Linked DNA regions of Homo sapiens: all the other regions are linked to region 1. Evidence: promoter capture Hi-C in 16 types of primary human blood cells and fetal thymus (Javierre and others, 2016). All regions are on one chromosome and are shown on one strand. The core of a region is centred on a gene start or on the middle of the fragment in contact, and the rest is flanking DNA. Distances in the headings are between cores, read along the strand shown. Region 1 holds the start of CLRN2 (clarin 2). Region 2 overlaps TAPT1 (transmembrane anterior posterior transformation 1). Region 3 has its middle 45 kb from the start of TAPT1-AS1. Region 4 overlaps LOC124900674 (a long non-coding RNA gene). Region 5 overlaps LOC105374510 (a long non-coding RNA gene).

Region 1 (3,878 bases), core at 684-3,183:
GTATGTTCTTTAAGCCCATTGAATTTCCCTAAAAATAATTTACTAGTCCCCTAAAATCATCCACACTTCCCCATCTCTCTTTCCCCTAAGATGAAGAGGATACAACCACCTGTACCCCATTGAGATAGCGGACAATCACTCTGTGATTTTTCCCCTATGCATGCTAATAAATGTGTAAGCCATTTTCCCTATTAATCTGCCTTTTGTCAGTAGATTGTTTAGAGAACCTTCAGAGTGCAAAGGGGAAGTTTTCTTGACCCCTAAAGTCCCGAAGACATCCTTTATAGCAAAGCATCTAGTTCAGAATCGAGTAGTCCATGTAGTTGTCATGGTTAGCTTTTAGCATTTCTTTTTTTTATTTGTTTATGTGTGTGTGTTTTCAAGTTTTATGTTATAATTTTGATGGAGCTATTTGTTCAATATCCAGGGTCTAATCTAATTGCTAGGTAAATATAAATATGCCCAGACATATTGATCTTGAATATACATAACAAATGTAAATTTTTGTGTGTTTAAATGATGACAATTTGTATTATATTTGTCAACGGTTCCAGCTTTTTGTCCTTATAAATTTAATACGACATTTACCTTGGCCAGATTTCTATAAACTACTACAATACTGAAATATAGAAATCAAGGAATGAATACAATTCTGTATCACCCTACATTGGCATGGTATTGATTAATTACGGTTTTGTGCAGACACTTTTCACCAGTGATCTCATCGATTCAAAAGGCTTGCAGAATATTGCCTGTTTTGTTTTTTCCTTTCCAGAAGCCCGTTCCTAAGTCCAGCTTGGATTCCTGTTTGTGCAGACTGCTCTGCTTACATCCTGGGCAGCTCTGATGCTACACTGAATGCCAGCCAAAGTCGGTGCCCGCTCACGTTCACAGAGAACAGGCAAGTGCCTTGCTTGAGGTCTCCCCACCAGTAAACTTTCCAGTAGGGGTTTCAGCCAGGGTAGTCTGATTCCAGAACCCAAGCACAGTGCCCCTTTGCATTTTCTCAGACTATGAAGCTTTTACAAAAGTAGATGTGGAAAGGGTCATCATGCTTCCCAAAGGTTCAGTTCTGCAGGCAGCCTCCACCCACTTGTTGTGGTCATGTGGCATGGGTCTGGAGTCCGGCTCTACTGTTTCCTGGCTGGGTGACCTCAGGTAAGTTATGTAACCTCTCCAAGCCTCAGTGTACTCCTCTGGAAAATGGGAACATTAACAATTCCTTCTGTATAACTTTGTTGTAAGGCTTTAAGGAGACAAGTGGCGTGAGGTGCTTACAATGTCTGACACGTGTAAACTCTCAATATTTTAATAGTCATAATTAATAGAGGTAAACTGCAAAAATGCACAAATCCTTATTTCTAATGTTTCTATACATCTCTACAGAAAAAGAAAAGGAAGCAAGGAAGGAAGGAAAGATCTTTTTGATGTGGATCCAGAACCCTTGGCTCACTGTGGACTTTGACATTATGCCTGACGTTGAGGCAGCAGCCAAATTCCACAATGAGACATAAGCACTCTTACACATTAACAAAAATGAGTGCCTAGAATCAGCTTTCATGCTCCCAATATACTCACTCGTGAATTGGGATTGGCGGCCCCCAAGCCCACACTGCCGCACTTTACACCCTCGGAAGAGCCCGTAGTAAATGTCCCCAATGAACTTGACCAGCTCTCTGTCTGTGGCGTTGACCAGATCCACTCCAGTCTGACAAAGGATTTTCCCACTCAGCCAGTGGGGCACTACCAGGGCAACGATGATCAGGATGAAGGAGGAGAAGCTGAGTAAAGACGCCAGCCCATACCACGCCTTTTTGAACCATCCAGGCATGCTAGTGGGTGCAGGTCATCCCCAAGGTCTCCGAGCAGCAGCGAGGGTCATTGACATCTTTCAGATACTCGGCAATGCTCTGCTCCAAGGTCAGCTCTTCCAAACACTCTGTTTCAAGGTTGTAGGTCCATCCTCTCGTCCTCCTTCAGCGCAAGCTTGCACAGTCCATGCTTCCTACAACCACATCCAGAAGCCTCTACAGAGACAATCTTCACCTGACTATGTAGCGGAGTGTGTTACTGAAGGAAGTAACCTTATATCTCCTCCTAGACTAATGTTTCAGCAGACTGTTTAACTGTTCCTCGTTTCAAGTATTTAAATAGCCCTGGTGTGGACCTCGTAATGATAAAGGAGTTAGTAATAAGCAAAATCAGGTAGCTCTGAAGATTAAGAGACGCAAACCAATCTCAAAAAATGCATGTGTTAGAAGGAAAACAAAAACAGAATGATTAGCACTTGAATATTGCCAACAATGCGCAGTATCAAATGTCGATCTCGCTGATGCATGGGTGCCCTGGCATTTCTTTCTCTGAAATGTCACTGCTGTCAGAATCTTTAGGACTGTTATTAATACCATCAAATGACCCCGGTTCTTGGGGCTTTAATATTGAAATGTGTAAATAGGGCCTTATGAATTTCTCACTGTGTGAATCTGCTGGGGGTAAACTGTGACTAGAATTACTTTGTGGCTGTTGGGGTAGCCTGGAATCCAACACTTAACATTGCTCTCACCCGTCCCTCCTTCTACGTTATCTGAAATGGGAGAGAAAAGTGTTTTTCTAGTGTATTAGCAAATAGTAGCCACACTGCTGGGGTATTCATCTCTTCTAATAGTGGAAGATCTAGGCTTTCCTTTTAATCTGTAGATACTAGGAATGAAATATTCTTTCCTTTCTATCTTATACTGTGGACTTTGACATTTTGACTTTTACCTTATTCCTGAATATCAACTTAACATCATGTGAGACTGGCAACAGTCACTCTATCCATATCTCTGGGGAGCAAAGTTGGGCAAAAGTGGAGCAGTAAAATTTCTTAGTTGGTCACAGAAGCCTGAAGGGGGGTTCAGGAAGTTGCACTGTTAACCAATAGGGGTCCCAGGAATCTCACTTGGAGAGTGTCAAGGAAGCAGAGGGACACATTAATGGAAATGTCAGTTTCCTTCCTCGCAACTGGGGCTCACTTCAGTGGCCACTCCACAATGAAAATAAAAATGAGAATTTCTGAGCCTGGGCAATGTAGTGAGACCTTATCTCTACAAAAAATAAAAAAAAAAAATAGTTGGGCCTGATGGCGTGTATTTGTAGTCCCAGCTACTGGAGGCTGAGGCTGGAAGACTGCTCCAGCCCAGGAGCTCAAGGCTGTAGTGAGCTATGATCATGCCACTCTGAGTAACAGAGTGAGATCCTGTCTCTTACTATATATACAGATGAGTGGCACTTTACCATGTACAAAATGCAAAATGCTTTGACCATATGCTTGCTCACCTCTGATGCTCCAGCAACCCTTTAAGGTAAACAGGAGATGCACGATTTCAGCCATTTCTCTCATGAAAAACTGGATGTCAGTGCTGGGGCTGAAATTCAGGTCTTTGAATTACAACAGCTCATCTTCATCCCAGTGACTTTGAAACAGCAAATGTTTTTCTGGTAAAAAATAACAGAATACATATAAAAGGCTCAGAAGACTGCTTGGCACATTAAGTGATCAATAATGTTAGTTCACGTTCTTATTTTAACATTAAGCATGCTTTGACAAGTCAGGACTTGCGTAAATATCATTGAGTCATATTTCTGCCGTCAGTGAGGGACCTGTGTCAACTTTTGGTGTTTTGAGGGTTAAGCAATTGTTTTCAGAAAAACTCTAAGGGAAACACTTGATTCCCAACAAGCCTTTGTCTTGCTGAACAAAGGTGTGGTTAAGTGGAACTCTAGCTATTGAAGACCTGTGTTCAAATTCCCACTCTTCCAGACAAGTGTCTGTGACTCTCATGCCTCAGCTTTCTAATCTGCATAGGATTATCGTGTGGAGTAAAGTGAAATAGCAC
Region 2 (3,878 bases), core at 387-2,886, 1.3 Mb after region 1:
CTCCGATAACCATATTTGTTAGAGGTTTCCCCACTAGAAACAATTATTTTAGTCCTTCTTCAATGCCCAGGCTGCTAAGTCTAGCGCTGCCCTCTTCCCCTGCTCTGTAATCCTTCCTTCCCCTCCTTTTAAGAATTTTTAAAAACGATTCCCTAGGAGCTGGCCTGGGTCAGAGGGCCTTTGAGTGGCAGCACCTGGAGTCATTTGGATAGCATTTCTCCCTGAATCAAACTAGTCCTCCACGGCTAGATGCTCGGACTTAAGGTATTACTTGTTGATTTTTTTATATTCTTGTGTGCCTCTGAGAGTCTAGCACCACTGCCCTTGAGATCTAGATCCCCCTGCAAGTTAAGGCAACCTTTGGCTTTTCTTTTTGAAAGTCATAATCTTAGTGTCTTGGTGGCTGAACCATCAGTCAGTTCCAAAGTTCCCTTTATCATTTCTCACAAGGAATTTAGGGCTCCTACAGGTAAGACATTTGTTGATCAGTCCCAACAGCCTAGAATTCCCTAAATGAATGTACATATTAGGTACTTATCCAAACTCTTTCCATCTGAATAAAATAAAACGTGGTGTCTGAGGTTCATTTTTTGTTTTATATCTCTCCTTGTTGATTTATATGTTTAGAAACTAGATATGTATATTTGTCTGTATGAATAGCTGTATATGCTCTATATTGTATTATACTAAACATGTGTCTCCATTAAGTCTAAGCTTTCTTTTCCTCATCACTTCGTTCTCAGAACTCCCGTTCTGACTTATATTTAGCCTGGCAATAGGCTGACGCATGTCTCAGATGCGAGTACTTACACCTTTTAACATAGTTAGAATTGGGAATCCCACTCATCATTCCTGTTTTTATTTGCTCTCTCAGAATGGTCATTGTGTATTTCCTTGTTGCATATGTGGTTACTGGCCTTGAACTCTGGATGTAGTGGTTATCAAGAACTGCAGATTGATCTCTTCTGTATTTTCTTCCTGTCCTTGAAAATACTACCAACTTCTGTTGTTCCTTTTGACATAAAACCAAATAATCAATGTTATGTTTTTGTGCTTGTTCCCCACTTGATTCATCTGCAGAAGTCCTAGGTAGGAGAGTTTCTGTATAGCCATATTTTTATTTAGGAATCTAAGTACAGCAAATCAACTTTGGACTAAGCATTAGGAAATCTGTGTTTTTGGCTTGGTTGGGTTGTTGAATTGCTTTGTAAACTCTGTGCTTGCTTAGACTGCTTGCCTAATCAGTTTGGTTCTGTTTCATAATGCCACTACTAGATAGTTCAGTATCTGAAGCATCTAGGTTGCTTCTAGTCACCATGGAGACTTAACAGAAGGCTTGGTGTAAATAAGGGTAGCACCTGTGAGGGTAGCACAGGTGAAACAGTACCTGTGTAATGCAGGTGTTGGAGATGCATGGGGATAGGTATTGCTTGTAAAACAAGAAAGCCTGAAGTCGGGTATAGGTGAACATATTGTTTCTACTGGTAACAGTGCCATGGACCCATTTCTTTCTTCTTTAACAGTGACTCTGGACTTCTAAAACTTCAACTTATTATCCATCTCTTTTGCCTCTCTCCTCTCCCTTTAACCATGGTTAGACCTCTTCTTGCTTCACCTCTGTTAGAGATTGAGCAGAGGCAGGAAGAATGAAACCCAGAAAAGTCAACTGAATTTTTAGCAATACCCTTAAAAGATTTCGAGTGGGACGAAGGTTTTAACTATTCATATTACCTATGTCTTATTCTTTGTGTAACTGAAAATTTGTCAGTTTCTTCTTACAAATACATTTTTATTAAAATATGTTTTCATTTAACCAGTCTTCACCTATATCACATAGTTATCCCAGTGGCCCCAAACTTAACCAAATGGATGATTAAAGGGTGACTGATTCTAAAATTATGATCTAGAGCCAATTAATTTGTTCACAAAGAAAAATAAAAATAATAAAACCGGGAAATTACTTGGAGTAACCACAAACCAGATACAAAGTAAAATTAGCTACTTCTGACAAACTATTGCTTTGCTTTTAAAATTCTCACTTGCTTTACTTAATTAGTATATATAGACCAAACGAACAATGAAAAGTTACTTATTTTGGTTTTTGATCAGTTCAGTGTCTTGGCTTTTGACAGTTTTTAACTTTAACTTAGTTTACGCTCTGAAATTCAATCCTAGCAGCTCATTTGTGCTCCAATTTGGGGACTACTTGCATAAAAGAAGTCTCTGGAAAGCCTATATAGCATTGACTGTCAAATTAATGATATTCTATTCTCATTTGTAATCCTTTGCTTTATAACCTTATGACCTTGGAAAAAGTCACTCCTTTGTTTATACCTGTTTTCCATCTATACATGTGTAAATATTCTACTCTTTACTCCTCTAAATGAGACTATAAACATTTTTTCAAACATCTTAAAAACTTGAATATACTGTGTGAAATGGTTCTTTACTTAATGTTTGACTTAGGAAGGCAGAATTGCTGTTGTATGATTGAGTCCCAGAAAAGCTGATTACTAATTGGCCTGGTACAAGAGTGTGTCTCTGTTCAATAAGCTTATTTAATATTTTAGTGTAACCTTAATAAAGTTTACTAAAGTTTTATGTTATTTAAGACTATGGAGATATGCATGTTTCATATTTTCCTAACAGTTAACCAGTATTACTTTCCAAATTTTTAAATGCTCAATGCTATTTTAAGAAAGATATATTTAGACATATTACTGAACATATAAATATATTTATGATTACTCATTACTTTTAATTAATACTTTTTAATCTTTGGTTCTTATTTCTAAAATAAGCTTTCTTAGAAGATAATTAAACATTGTGTTTTTTCTTTTAGGGGTGAAGAAAAAGCAATTTATACTATGCTTTTTCTGAATTTAAGTTCTGGATCACAGAGCAATTCTGTGGTAGGAGATGATATCATGTAAAAATATGCTGGAGGGGCTGGGCGCGGTGGCTCACTCCTGTAATCCCAGCACTTTGGGAGGCTGAGGCGGGTGGATTGCCTGAGCTCAGTAGTTCGAGACCAGTATGGGCAACACGGTGAAACCCTGTCTCTACTAAAATACAAAAAATTAGCTGGGCGTGGAGGTGTGCGCCTGTAATCCCAGCTACTTGGAGGCTGAGCCAGGGGAATTGCTGGAACCCAGGAGGTGGAGGTGGAGGTTGCAGTGAGACGAGATCGTGCCACTGCACTCACGCCTGGGCAACAGGTGACAGAGCAAGACTGTGTCTCCAAAAAAAAAGTATATATATATGTACGTATGTGCTGGAGGAATTGATTTGGATTTATGATTGGTATTATTTTCCTCATATTACATATTCACAGTTGACGGCTGGGCACGGTAGCTCACACCTATAATCGTAGCACTTGGAGAGGCCAAGGCGGGTGGATTGCTTGAGCCTAGGAGTTCAAGACCAGCCTAGGCAACATAGTGAAACCCTGTCTCTATAAAAAATACAGTGAGCCAAGATTGTGCCACTGGGCTGCAGCCTGGGCAACAGAGTGAGACCCTGTCTCAAAAAAAAAAGAAAATTCACAGTTGTCAAAACATAGTTCTTCTAATGTTAAGCACTTGTTTATGCTATAATAGTAAAATGTTTCTTTTTTTTTTTTTTTGAGATAGAGTCTCGCTCTGTCACCAGGCTGGAGTACAGTGGTGCGATCTTGGCTCACTGCAACCTCCGCCTCCTGGGTTCAAGCAATTCTCCTACTTCAGCCTCCCAAGTAGCTGGGACTGCAGGCGTGCACCACCATGCCCAGCAAATTTTGGTATTTTTAGTAGAGACGGGGTTTCACCATGTTGGCCAGGATGGTCTCCATCTCTTGACATTGGGATCCACCCGCCTTGGCCTCCCAAAGTGTCTATTTT
Region 3 (3,878 bases), core at 839-3,338, 1.2 Mb after region 1:
TTGCCCAAATAGTGCTTTTAAATAATTGGACTTTTACCCTTTTGGGGTCCACTTTATAATCTGCTGGTAGCTCCGAAAATGGGCGTGAATACAAAAATTTGCATACAATTTTAGGGAGTTCCATGAATCCTCAGGTAAAAGCTCTTTGATGTGATAGTTGTATCACTTAGATACAATTATGGTTACTAGAAGGATTTAAGCTGCAAATAACTGTAAATCCAAGCTCACACTGCTTTGAACAAGAAGCAAATATACCTGGAAGTCCAATTAGGCCTTATGTTCCAGACCGAACTGTGTTCCCTTTGCCCAAAATTTATATGTTGAAGCCCCATCCTCCAATGTGACTGTATTTCGAGATAGGGTAATTAAAGTTAAATGAGGTCATAAGGATGTTGCCCTAATCTGATAGGGCCAGTGTCCTCATAAGAAGAGGAAGAAACACCAGAGTGCTCTCTCTCTCTCCATGAGCACACACAGAAGAAAGACCATGCGAAGACACAGTGAAAAGATGGCAAGCCAGGAAGAGAGGCCTTACCAGAAACCAACCCTTCTGGTACCTTAATCTTGAACTTCCAGCCTCCAGAACGATGAGAAAGTAAACTTCTATTGTCTAAGCCACCCAGTCTGGGGTATATTGTTATGGCAGACCTAGCTGACTAATGCATCTTTCCAAAATTGGCAACTCTCTAAAGCCTTCTGTTGGCTTCCTGCAAAAGTTGTGTTACTCAAGGACGACACGACTATGGCTCTGATGCGGACAATGTTGCAAAAAGCCCCGAGGCCCATTAATAACATGAAAGATAGCAGCTGATGCGTATTGAGAACTTACCATGTCCCAGGTGCCATACCGTGTGCCCTACATATATTATCTCATTTAATTATTATGATAGGAATAATTGTCCCTATCTAACAAGAAAAAAAGAAAACTGAAGGTATTTGACTCCAAAAGCTTTTCTCTTTCCATTATGCATCCCTAGTTTGAGTAACTAGGCTATAGTATGGCCCAAAACTGTACCCCCAAAGGCTGGGCTCATTGAAGGGGCCCCAAGTTCACAGTCATCTCTGATCCCACATTCAAACACTCACCCAGTCTTTCTGCAGATGCCCAAGATGAACCCTTAGACCTGTGTAGTGACAGATGCAAATTTGTTCTCTGGACTCAGATGTGCAGAAAAAAATAACTATTCCACCTAATACCTGTCTACACCCAATGGATAGTAGAAAAAAATCTAAATTTGCAACACTCTTCCAGTTTAAAACAATGTCATTTCAGATTAAGTACTTAGTCAGCCCAAATTTCATATATCAAAAAACTGAAACACATGTAATCCACTCTTCCCATTATTAAAACTTAATGATGGAGCTGAATTAAGAAAAAAGAGAATGTTATGTAGGGGTGTCAGATGCCCGGTCCCTGCCTCCTCTAGACTGTGGATACCAGAAGGAGTCCTGGGAGAGAGGAAAAGACAAGAATGAGAAACCCATCCTCACTTCTGGTCCCAAGGGGATATAGTGGAAGTGCGAGTAGACCAGCAGCCAAAGAGACAGCCTGTCCTTGTTTCCCCTCTCTGGGCTCTGGCTGGGAAATAGGGAAGGGTGCATCCCTAAAAATCCCTAAAAATGGGAAAGGGGAGGGTGCATCCAAGAAGGTATAGGACGCCAAGGAAAGACGGCACTTGCCTCACTTACACATGTGGCTCTGAGGGGCGATCACCTGCCAGAATGCCCCATCACCACCATTGAAGAAATCATCTCTGAGTGCATTTGACATGTCAGGCACTGATCCAGCACATCAGACAAGAAGATGACCATATTTTAATTGCATGCACATGTGTGTGTGTATATGGATTTTTGGATCATTTGATTCTATTAAACTTCCTGAAAAAAATATAAATTTTAGAGATTAAATAGTAATTTCACCGCACCAGGGGCACTTTGGGATTTAAAGACCGTTTTTAAAAGAATCCTTTTGTAAAGTAAAGGTTAAGTCCCCAGTTGTTTGCTTTGTTTTGTTTTTAATGCAAACTCAGATTTTTCCTATACATTTGGTTTACTTAAATTATACACACACACACACACACACACACACTCACACACAAAAATATCTCAATTCCCTTGGCAGCCTATGATATTTGCTTCATTTATCAGATTGGAGGAAGGAGAAATATTGAAGAGAAGAGGAAGATGAGATGGGTAATTCGTGCTGTGGAATTTTTAAATAAAATTTTCCTAGAACAATCACATTTTCACATTTGCAGTTTATATTGTTTTTCTGTCATGAGTGGCTTAGAAACTAAACAAACAAACAAACAAAAACCTACATCACAGGAAAGGTAATGGAACAAACTGAAACGCTGGTTTAGAACCACGAGTTTAGTGGGAGTGTATTATTATACTTCCTTAATTCTGCCACGTGGCAAGGTTTTCTATGTGATTAATGAGCCACCATTGTACAACATTACCAGAAGGCAAACAATTCCAATTACCGATAGAGCTAAACCATAATTACCATGCAAATGATTTCAATAATGTAATAGAATGGAATATCTGGTCATTACAGGGCAGACAATTCACAATGTTAATTGGGGGCAGTCTGTTTTCAGAGAGTAAATAATATTAACAGTAATATAAATCCAAACTAATATTAGGTTTGACTTTGCTTATGATCAAGAGGAATGGTCTACTTCCGAAATTACGTTTACATTACAAAGACAAACCATACTTGCTTCGGTTTCTATCATAAGTAAAATGATTTGTATCGAAAATACTGGGAAGCAAAATGATACTGAGATGAGATTGAAAATTTGAGAAAAGAGGTCAGCAATTGAAGGCCTTTAGGCAAGAATTCAGACATGGGAATAGACAACCTCTAATTCCCAGAGTCGCCTCCTGGGGGCAGGAGATGATGGTTGAGAACTCCGAAAATAGGGGAGAACAAGAAAAAAGAAAACTGCTGTTAAGTCATCCTCTTAAATCCTACTTTTCCTCTCATTCTTTCTTCTATTATCCAAGTTTTAATCTTACATGACCACCTACTTGGTCTATTGTAATAGTTTTCAAGTCAGTTTCCTGCTCACTCCCTCCTCTTCCCCATTCATACTTACCTCTTCCCCATTCTGTGCAATATCAGTAGAAAAACATGAAGTTCTTCCCTCCCACTACTAAAGTCCCAATACTTTCTACTTCTGTTCTGAAATACCCAGAGGCTCCTTCCCCAAGAAGCTTCCTCTCACCATTCTGTACAGTCCCTAGGAAGTGCATGGTCCAACTTGGCCATTTATATTCATTCTTCCAAGGCTCCCAAGGCTCCCAAGGCTCAGAAGAATTGGGGTTTTTTTGCTCCAGCAGCAGTGCCCTGAATTTTGTGAAGTTCCTGTTGCTTATACTTCCACAGTAGACATAGTTTATGTTCGTGGCTCCTCCCATCCTATTTTTAAGCTTGATTCTCCAGTTTCCCTCTTATTACCTAATCCATACATCCCTCTAACAAATTCCCCTTTTATAAGATCTTGGCCAGAGTTCATTTTTGTGGCTTTCCAAAGAGGAACCCTAACTGATACACCTCTCCTAAGAAATTTAAGCCAGATCCACATGGCTTCCCCTGATAGGAGGGAAGACAGTCATGATTATCTGGCAAATTGGGGCTGTTTCTAAGGATTGCTTGCGGTCATTTTAAATTGGAAAATATCCTGTGAGTAGATGACATAATCAGATGCAGTGGAGGTAGTGGTTAAGAACCAAGCTCCGGAGCCAGGCCTTGCGGGTTTAAACCTCACTTCCTCCACTGAATAGTTGTATAACCTTGGGCAAATTGCTTAAAAGTGAAATGGAGAAAGCAAGAAGCCATTCCTCCTGGGACTGCTACAAGAATGAATGAG
Region 4 (3,878 bases), core at 523-3,022, 1.2 Mb after region 1:
TGATTTTCAATTTGTCCAGCTTTTCTTTTAAAGACGGGAATGATGGCTTCCTAGCTGTTTACATGCTTGAGCTAAAACTCAAAGTCCCTACTTAATGTTTTATATTTTCAAAATGTGCTTTTTTATTTTAATGGATTCTATTGAACATTCCTTATCCACAGAAATCTTCTTGAGTCTTATTTTGTTGTATTTTGTGATCGCCGTGACTCTGAAACTACTTTTTTCTTTTTTTTTTTGACAGAGTTTCACTCTTGCTGCCCAGGCTGGAGTGCAATGGTGCAATCCTGGCTCACTGCAACCTCCGTCTTCTGGGTTCAAGCAATTCTCCTGCCTCAGCCTCCCAAGTAGCTGGGATTACAGGCATGTGCCACCATGCCTGGCTAATTTTTGTATTTTTAGTAGAGACAGGGTTTCACCTTGTTGGTCAGGCTGGTCTTGAACTCCTGACCTCAGGTGATCCACCCACTTTGGCCTCCCAAAGTGCTGGGATTCAGGGGTGAGCCACCACACCCGGCCAACTCTGAAAGTTCTAAGCAGCAGACTTTTCCTAGCTCTGCAAAGAAATAACCAAAGAGCTCTTGGCCTCTAGCTAGACCACATACCTCTTGTTGCCTAGCTTGGAATTCCACACTGCTGCCCACTCCCTTTTGGAACCCATAGAACACTTACATGCAACATGCATCCTGGAAGTAAAAGAGAGTGGTGACCAGGGGACCATCTTTGACTAATGGAAGGAAAGAAGCCGATGGATAAATGTTTTTCTCTTTCATCTCCCAGGGACATAAGGATTTCAAAAGGCCCTCAGAACATCCTGGTGAGACCGAACTCCCACCCTCGCAGCAGAGGCCAGTTCAACAACTCATTCTTGTATCTGCTTCCTGATCTACTCCCAAATTTCTGCTCCCTGAAATCATTTTCCAGAGGATTAGCCCATATGAGAACCTTCGTCTTGGGCTTTGCTTTTGGAGAACCCAGGCTAAGATATAAGATTATTTAAAAGAAAAAATTTATAACATGTCTATAAATGGATAAAAACAGCCATTTGCCATTACAAAGATGAATTCTTCCCTTCCATGACTTTCCAAAACTTCTTTGCCTGTAAATATCTATTCCTCTTAGCTCATTCTTCCCATCCTTCTGCATTTTGATAGCACATTATCAGTTGCATAAAATTATCTGTTCTTACCCACCTCCCTCTATATTTTGAGAAATTTAGAAGATAAGAAAAGAAAAGAAAATGATGCCATTAAGGACTATTCCTTATACTCTTATGTTAACAAAAGATTAGCAAGTGTTGAAAGCAGTACTCAAAGTGTGGTTTATGGACAGATTATTGGCCTACAAACTGCTTTTTTAGTTTACAAACACTTAATAAGCTTGCTCCAAATGTAAATTAACTAAATCACTATATACAATATTACAACTGACATTAAAAACAAATTTATGACTTCTTCAATGAAGAAAGCAAGGCATTGATTTACATTGCTGTGTCAGACTCCTGATCTCAAGAAGTACTGTCTCTTTGAGTAACACTGGATTACAGGATTAGACAGTTATCAAAGTACTAACGGTGGACATTTCTTAGTATGCACTCAGTTCTAAGCACTCTTTCATAGGCCCTACTGATATTACCTCATTTAATTCTCAAAAAAAAACCTTGCATATGAGGTAGGTTATATTATTATTCTCACTTTATAGGTAGAGAGACTGACGCACAGTGAAGTTTAATAATTTTCCCAACATTACAGAGCTAGTAAGTGGTAGTGGCAGCCTCCCAGGTGACTGACCCCCAGTGGTCTTTGCCTCTTGGTATTTACTCCCTTGTGTAGTCAGCTCCCATAGTGTATTTGTGACCAAAGCACACACAAGTGATATTGTGTGATTTTCAAGGATAGATCATAACAGATATTGTTCCTTTTGCCTTGCTCTCTGGCATCAGCTACTTCAAGGAAGCCAGCTTCCACGTCATGACAACATTCATGCAGCACTATGGAAAGGCAAGAAACTGAGGCCTCTGTCAGCAGCCAGCACCAACTTGCAAGCCATGGGAGGGGGCATTCTTGGAAGAGAATCCTCCTGCTCACTCAAGTCTTCAGATGACTCCAGCTCTGGCTAACATCATGACTATGATCTCATGAGAGATGCTGAGTCAGAACCACCAAGCTTAGACACTTCTTCATTCCTGACCCACATGATATGTGCAAGATAATAAATTTTTATTGGTGTCTTCCATCTCTAAGTTTGGGGCTAGTTTCATATCCAACAATAGATAACTAAAATAGCAGTAGAAAATCTGGCTCCAGAGCCTGTTTTGTTAACTGCTATGTGTACTATCTCTCAACTGAGAGTTTATCTTGGGTATATGAAGAAGGATTAAAACAGAATTGAAGGTAGAGAAGGAAATGACTTCCTTCCTATGTGATGTTATTTAATGCCAATATTGTGTACCAGCTACCCAGCTACCATCGTCTCCACTAACACCAGCAGCATGCATTCAAAACTCTAAGAGAAGAAGAGTAGACAAGAGAGTATGGGATTTGAAAGAAGATAGTCCGGAATTGAATCCCAGTTCAGTTCCTTCACTCATTTTGGGTATTCCAAAAAAGAGGCCATAATAACCAGTGAGAAAAACAACTTGTAAAGCCCAGTCTCTCTGAGCACAGCTGAGAGCTGGCTATATATATTTATTTGGGATGTATGGAGTTCAGGGATTCATGGAATTTCTCAGAAGTAGGGGTACTTACAGATTGGGTAATATTTAGCTGTATGCCTGAGTGACAGTCTTGCTGATTGGATGACTTTCAGCAGTGTTTGTGCTGATGCAAAATAGCTAATGACCAATTAGGAAAAGTTTAAAACCATGTCTGGCAATTGTTTCAAGGCCAAAGAACAATGAGCCCTTTCCTAAGAAGATAGGAACTTTCTGTTCTTCCTTAAGCCATTTCCCTTCAATGTTCTTACCTGTAAAATGGGGAGAATACAGACAACTATTTATCAAGGGCCTACTATGATACTTGCCACACGCTAATCAACTCAGCCATTGTATGGCAGCAGCTGCCATAAACCATAAGTACACAAATGTATGTGGCTGTATTCCAATAAAACTTTATTTACAAAAATAGGCAGCAGGCAGGATGTGGCCAGTGGGCAGTAGTCTGCCAGTTCTGCTCCAGGTTATCTTTAGTCCCAGCTGTGGCCTGCTCTTCTGCCTCTCCTAGCTTCTAGCTCTGCTGTCCCATTGATCTGTATTACACTTTCCCCTTTCCTTAAATGCTTTTCTTCTACTGATGTGTTAGCTTTCAGTAAAGCATTACCTCATCAGGAGAAAGTGCTGTCCACACCTTTAGACTATTACAGGCCCCCCTGCTGTGTGCTCCCAAATGCATTTCCTCTTTCGCCACCTTCATCTCACTTTGTTATAATTATTTATTTCCATGTCTTTCTTCCCTGCTAAACTGTGAGCTCTGTGAAAGCAGGGATTGTTTGTCTCCCATGCCATTTGATCACAGGGCTTAGCACAATTCCTGACACATAGTAGGCATTTGGTAAATACAAAGGAAAAGAATGAATAAGCACGATTTTACAGAGAACATCTAAGATAAACTTTGGCTACTGTACACTTGTGTCTACCTATTTTACAATTTTTCCTAAAACCACCTTGTTCCCAAGAAATGGATTCTTCACTTCATATATTTTCAAGCTCACAGGCCATTTTGCCTCTATTTTACAGCGTAAGAATTTTGAAATGAGGAAACATCAGTGAAATCCATGTTTAAGGCACTTTTATTCTCATGCCACTATTTCCCTGCAATGGTGACCTTTAAATTTAGCCTGAGTATAAGTGGGGTTGTCAGAACATCAGGTTACATTATGTTATT
Region 5 (3,878 bases), core at 842-3,341, 1.1 Mb before region 1:
GTGCTGGAGAGGATGTGGAGAAATAGGAACACTTTTACACTGTTAGTGGGACTGTAAACTAGTTCGACCATTGTGGAAGTCAGTGTGGCGATTCCTCAGGGATCTAGAACTAGAAATACCATTTGACCCAGCAATCCCATTACTGGGTATATACCCAAAGGATTATAAATCATGCTGCTATAAAGACACAAGCACACGTATGTTTATTGCAGCACTATTCAATAGCAAAGACTTGGAAGCAACCCAAATGTCCATCAATGATAGACTGGATTAAGCAAATGTGGCACATATACACCATGGAATACTATGCAGCCATAAAAAAAGATGAGTTCATGTCCTTTGTAGGGACATGGATGAAGCTGGAAACCATCATTCTCAGCAAACTATCACAGGGACAAAAAACCAAACACCGCATGTTCTCACTCATAGGTGGGAATTGAACAATGAGAACACATGGACACAGGAAGGGGAACATCACACATCAGGGCCTGTTGTGGGGTGGGGGGAAGGGGGAAGGATAGCATTAGGAGATATACCTAATGTTAAATAACTAGTTAATGGGTGCAGCACACCACCATGGCACATGTATATATATGTAACTAACCTGTACATTGTGCACATGTACCCTAAAACTTAAAGTATAATAATAATAAAAAAGAAATATACTCACACACACACACAAAAACAGAAGAAAAATACTTGTCCCCAATGATGTATATCTCTATAATGACTGGAATTCTCATTTCTCCATCATTTTTTCTTCAGACACAGCTGAATAAAAACTCAGATATTTTTGTTCTTGATGAAGATCCAATTCGACCACTTCTTTTATGTATATTTCTCCCTTCTTTCCTCCATCCTCTCCTCCTTTCCTTCCTTCCTTTCCTGCTTGTTTCTTCCCTGTTTCCATTTATCCATCCATTTTATAAACATTGATTTTAGAGCCTATTATACATCAGAAACTATGTAGAAATGTGACCATAAGTTGCGTTCTATCTGGGTCGGATAATTAAGAAGCAGGTAAAATGCAGTGTAGTTAATTCTCAGGTAGAAGTGGGAGTGGAATATTACGGGACTAGAGTGAAGGACCATCATCCAGTCCGGGCTGGGTAGAAAACACCTTACAGACAGGCTCAGCATAGAGACTAGAAATCCTGGGCAGAGACTGCAGGAAACAGCCCAGGGCAAGTGGGTATATTTCATCCGCCACAAAACAGCCACCTAATCTGACTGATCCCTAAAAATATATACTTTTTGAACAACATAAGTAATACACAAATGCGTTTTTAGTATACAAATTCAATCAAAAACTCAGAATATGCAAGAACAGTTTTAAAGTTCATGTTTTCTTCACTGGAGCCCTTTCAATCTTTTCACTTATAATAATTTTTAACTATATGGCTATGTAGACGTTCATAAGTTTTCTAAGTATATACATACATACACACATATTGTCTATATATATATGTGTGTGTATATATATATGTATATATATATATATATATACACACACACACACACACACACACACCACATTGTCTGTATAAATAATAAAAAAGTTGGCCAGGTGCGGTGGGTCACACCTGTAACCCCAGCACTTTAGGAGGCTGAGGCAGGCGGATCATGATGTCAGAAGATCCAGACCATCCTGGGCAACATGGTGAAACCCCGTATCTACTAAAAATACAAAAATTAGCTGGGTGTGGTGGCGCGCACCTGTAGTCCCAGCTATTTGGTAGGCTGAGACAGGAGAATCGCTTGAACCCGGGAAGCAGAGGTTGCAGCAAGCCGAGATCACGCCACTGCATTCCAGCCTGGTGACAGAGTGAGACTCCATCTCAACAACAACAACAAAAAGCTTTCTAAATATATACATACATTATATATAAATAATAGAAAGGAAGTTAGATATATAGTGATATATGTATACATAGGCATACATTATATATGTGTATATGTACACATATATATGACTATACATATTCTGTAACTTCCTTTTTTATTGAAAATATCTTGGAATGCTTACATGGCCTATGCAGATATCATTCTTTTAAATACCTAAAGAGTATCATTTTTTGCATAGAAGTGATATGTATTCACGCATTTATAGTAAGAAAAACACCATTAACACTGAAAAATGTAAATCAAGGTTTCCCCAATCCTCCCCAAACTATTCATTCCTATCTTCATTCTTCATAGCTAATCTCTCTTAAGTCTTTGTATATTCTCCCAGAAATATTGTGTGTGTGTGTGTGTGTGTGTGTGTGTGTGTGTATGTGTGTGTGTGTGTGAGAGAGAGTATTCTCCATTTTTCCATAAGCTTAAAGCCAAGCTGTTCTCTGGTACCCAGGAGGACACAGGTTTTCCCTTTCCTGTGCTGCTTCTCCACCTGGCAAGATCTGTGTGTGAGGTGTATGGAGGTGGATCAGCTGTTCATCAAGCCATACTCAAGAATGTTCTGTTCAATGTAATGAGACCTCTGTAAATGCCAGTGTGAGAGGAATTATATTTCTGATGTGGAACATTCTTTTAATGGAGAAATGGGCTATGGGAAAAAGCAGAACATGCTCTTATTTCAAACATTGGGGAGAGAGATGGAAAATTTTTCTTGTAAATTATTCGCTATGTTAAACTAAGTCATTCAGAAAATGCATTTTAATAGGGCACATAAAATCAACAGGATCAGCAGGTAGAGCATCTATTTAAATTGCCACCTGCCACAAAGAAGCTAACACTGTATTCTCCAGCTGAAGATATTCAATTGTGTATGCTTTAGGGGTATGGGTGATTCTAGCTCCTGGTTGCATTATAATTTATAATAAATGAGGCATGAATTTATAGGGATTATTTATTTACTTTGAAGCAAATCTGTGATCCATGAATGACCCTATTACCAGTTAATAGGAGGAAAGAATTACTTGTTATTGGAATGAAATAAGAATAAGATCTAAACATGTAACATGCTTGACACGCATAGAGTCTTCAAAATATCTCCCCAAAAGGTTCATGTCAATAACATTCACCATAGGATACACAAAATATGAGCTCATTATCCATATATGAGAGAGGGAATAATGGATGTCTTCATATCTGACTTGTCCAATTTTACCTAAAATACTAGTGAGCAAGTGGGAACCAGGACACAGATCTTCTAATTCAGCCAAGCATAATTTTCGCCATAAAGATTCTTAAGTCTGTATTCAAATAATAATCATGCAAACTAATATTGGTGTAGCATTTTACATTTTAAAAAAGCAATTTTTCAGCAAACAATCAACATAATATCTTAGTTAAAAATGGTTGGGAGGCCGAGGTGGGCGGATCACAAGGTCAAGAGATCGAGACCATCCTGGCCAACATGGTGAAACCCCGTCTCTACTAAAAATACAAAAATTAGCTGGGCGTGGTGGCGTGTGCCTGTAGTCCCAGCTGTTCGGGAGGCTGAGGCAGGAGAATGGCTTGAACCCAGGAGGTGGAGGTTGCAGGGAGCCGAGATCGCACCACTGCACTCCTGCTTGGCGACAGAGCGAGACTCCATCTCAAAAGAAAAAAAAAAAGGTAATATTCACAGCATTTCTTCAGAACAATAAACTATGGACCAAGGAAATGAAAAAACTTGTTTCAGATCATACCCCTAAAAAGTGGCAGCATTCAAATAGCAGCACTTTGGTTAGCAAATCCCACTTTTCTCCCCGAAATTTTATGACACCATTACATCTAGAGTTGCGATGCATATATTACTGTATCTCCCTTACCTTATGAAATAGGGAAGCATGGAGATTCTCATCCTTATTTCCTAGAACAGAAACTTCAAAGTACCAATGATTTAAAGTTACAGTCACGCTAATGGGAGGATTAGCAGTTAGCACCCAATCAAG

What was found. Contacts are between HindIII fragments. The CHiCAGO score rates a contact against its expected background, and 5 or more counts as called.
Region 2: a contact is called between a fragment that was not itself captured here and the fragment with the promoter of CLRN2 in region 1, in 1 of 17 cell types (M1 macrophages). The highest score is 6.2, in M1 macrophages.
Region 3: a fragment that was not itself captured here is called in contact with the fragment with the promoter of CLRN2 in region 1 in 2 of 17 cell types (M1 macrophages and M0 macrophages); the score reaches 8.3 in M1 macrophages.
Region 4: a fragment that was not itself captured here is called in contact with the fragment with the promoter of CLRN2 in region 1 in 1 of 17 cell types (M1 macrophages); the score reaches 5.2 in M1 macrophages.
Region 5: a fragment that was not itself captured here is called in contact with the fragment with the promoter of CLRN2 in region 1 in 5 of 17 cell types (total CD8 T cells, naive CD4 T cells, activated CD4 T cells and 2 more); the score reaches 9.6 in total CD8 T cells.

What each region holds. Positions count from the first base shown.
Region 1 is chr4:17,513,220-17,517,097 of GRCh38, reverse strand. CLRN2 (clarin 2) reads right to left here and starts at 1,933. Exons shown (of 3, transcript NM_001079827.2): 1 at 1,579-1,933. The coding sequence starts at 1,831. The HindIII fragment of the contact is 967 bases long and covers 1,022-1,988 here.
Region 2 is chr4:16,220,495-16,224,372 of GRCh38, reverse strand. The region is part of intron 1 of TAPT1 (transmembrane anterior posterior transformation 1); the gene reads left to right. Among named protein-coding and RNA genes, the nearest start is that of TAPT1, 4.0 kb to the left of the region's middle. The HindIII fragment of the contact is 1,839 bases long and covers 717-2,555 here.
Region 3 is chr4:16,270,142-16,274,019 of GRCh38, reverse strand. No RefSeq gene overlaps it. Among named protein-coding and RNA genes, the nearest start is that of TAPT1-AS1, 45 kb to the right of the region's middle. The HindIII fragment of the contact is 2,273 bases long and covers 952-3,224 here.
Region 4 is chr4:16,292,903-16,296,780 of GRCh38, reverse strand. All of the region lies in intron 2 of LOC124900674 (a long non-coding RNA gene), which reads right to left. Among named protein-coding and RNA genes, the nearest start is that of TAPT1-AS1, 68 kb to the right of the region's middle. The HindIII fragment of the contact is 787 bases long and covers 1,379-2,165 here.
Region 5 is chr4:18,593,908-18,597,785 of GRCh38, reverse strand. The region is part of intron 1 of LOC105374510 (a long non-coding RNA gene); the gene reads right to left. Among named protein-coding and RNA genes, the nearest start is that of LCORL, 570 kb to the right of the region's middle. The HindIII fragment of the contact is 462 bases long and covers 1,861-2,322 here.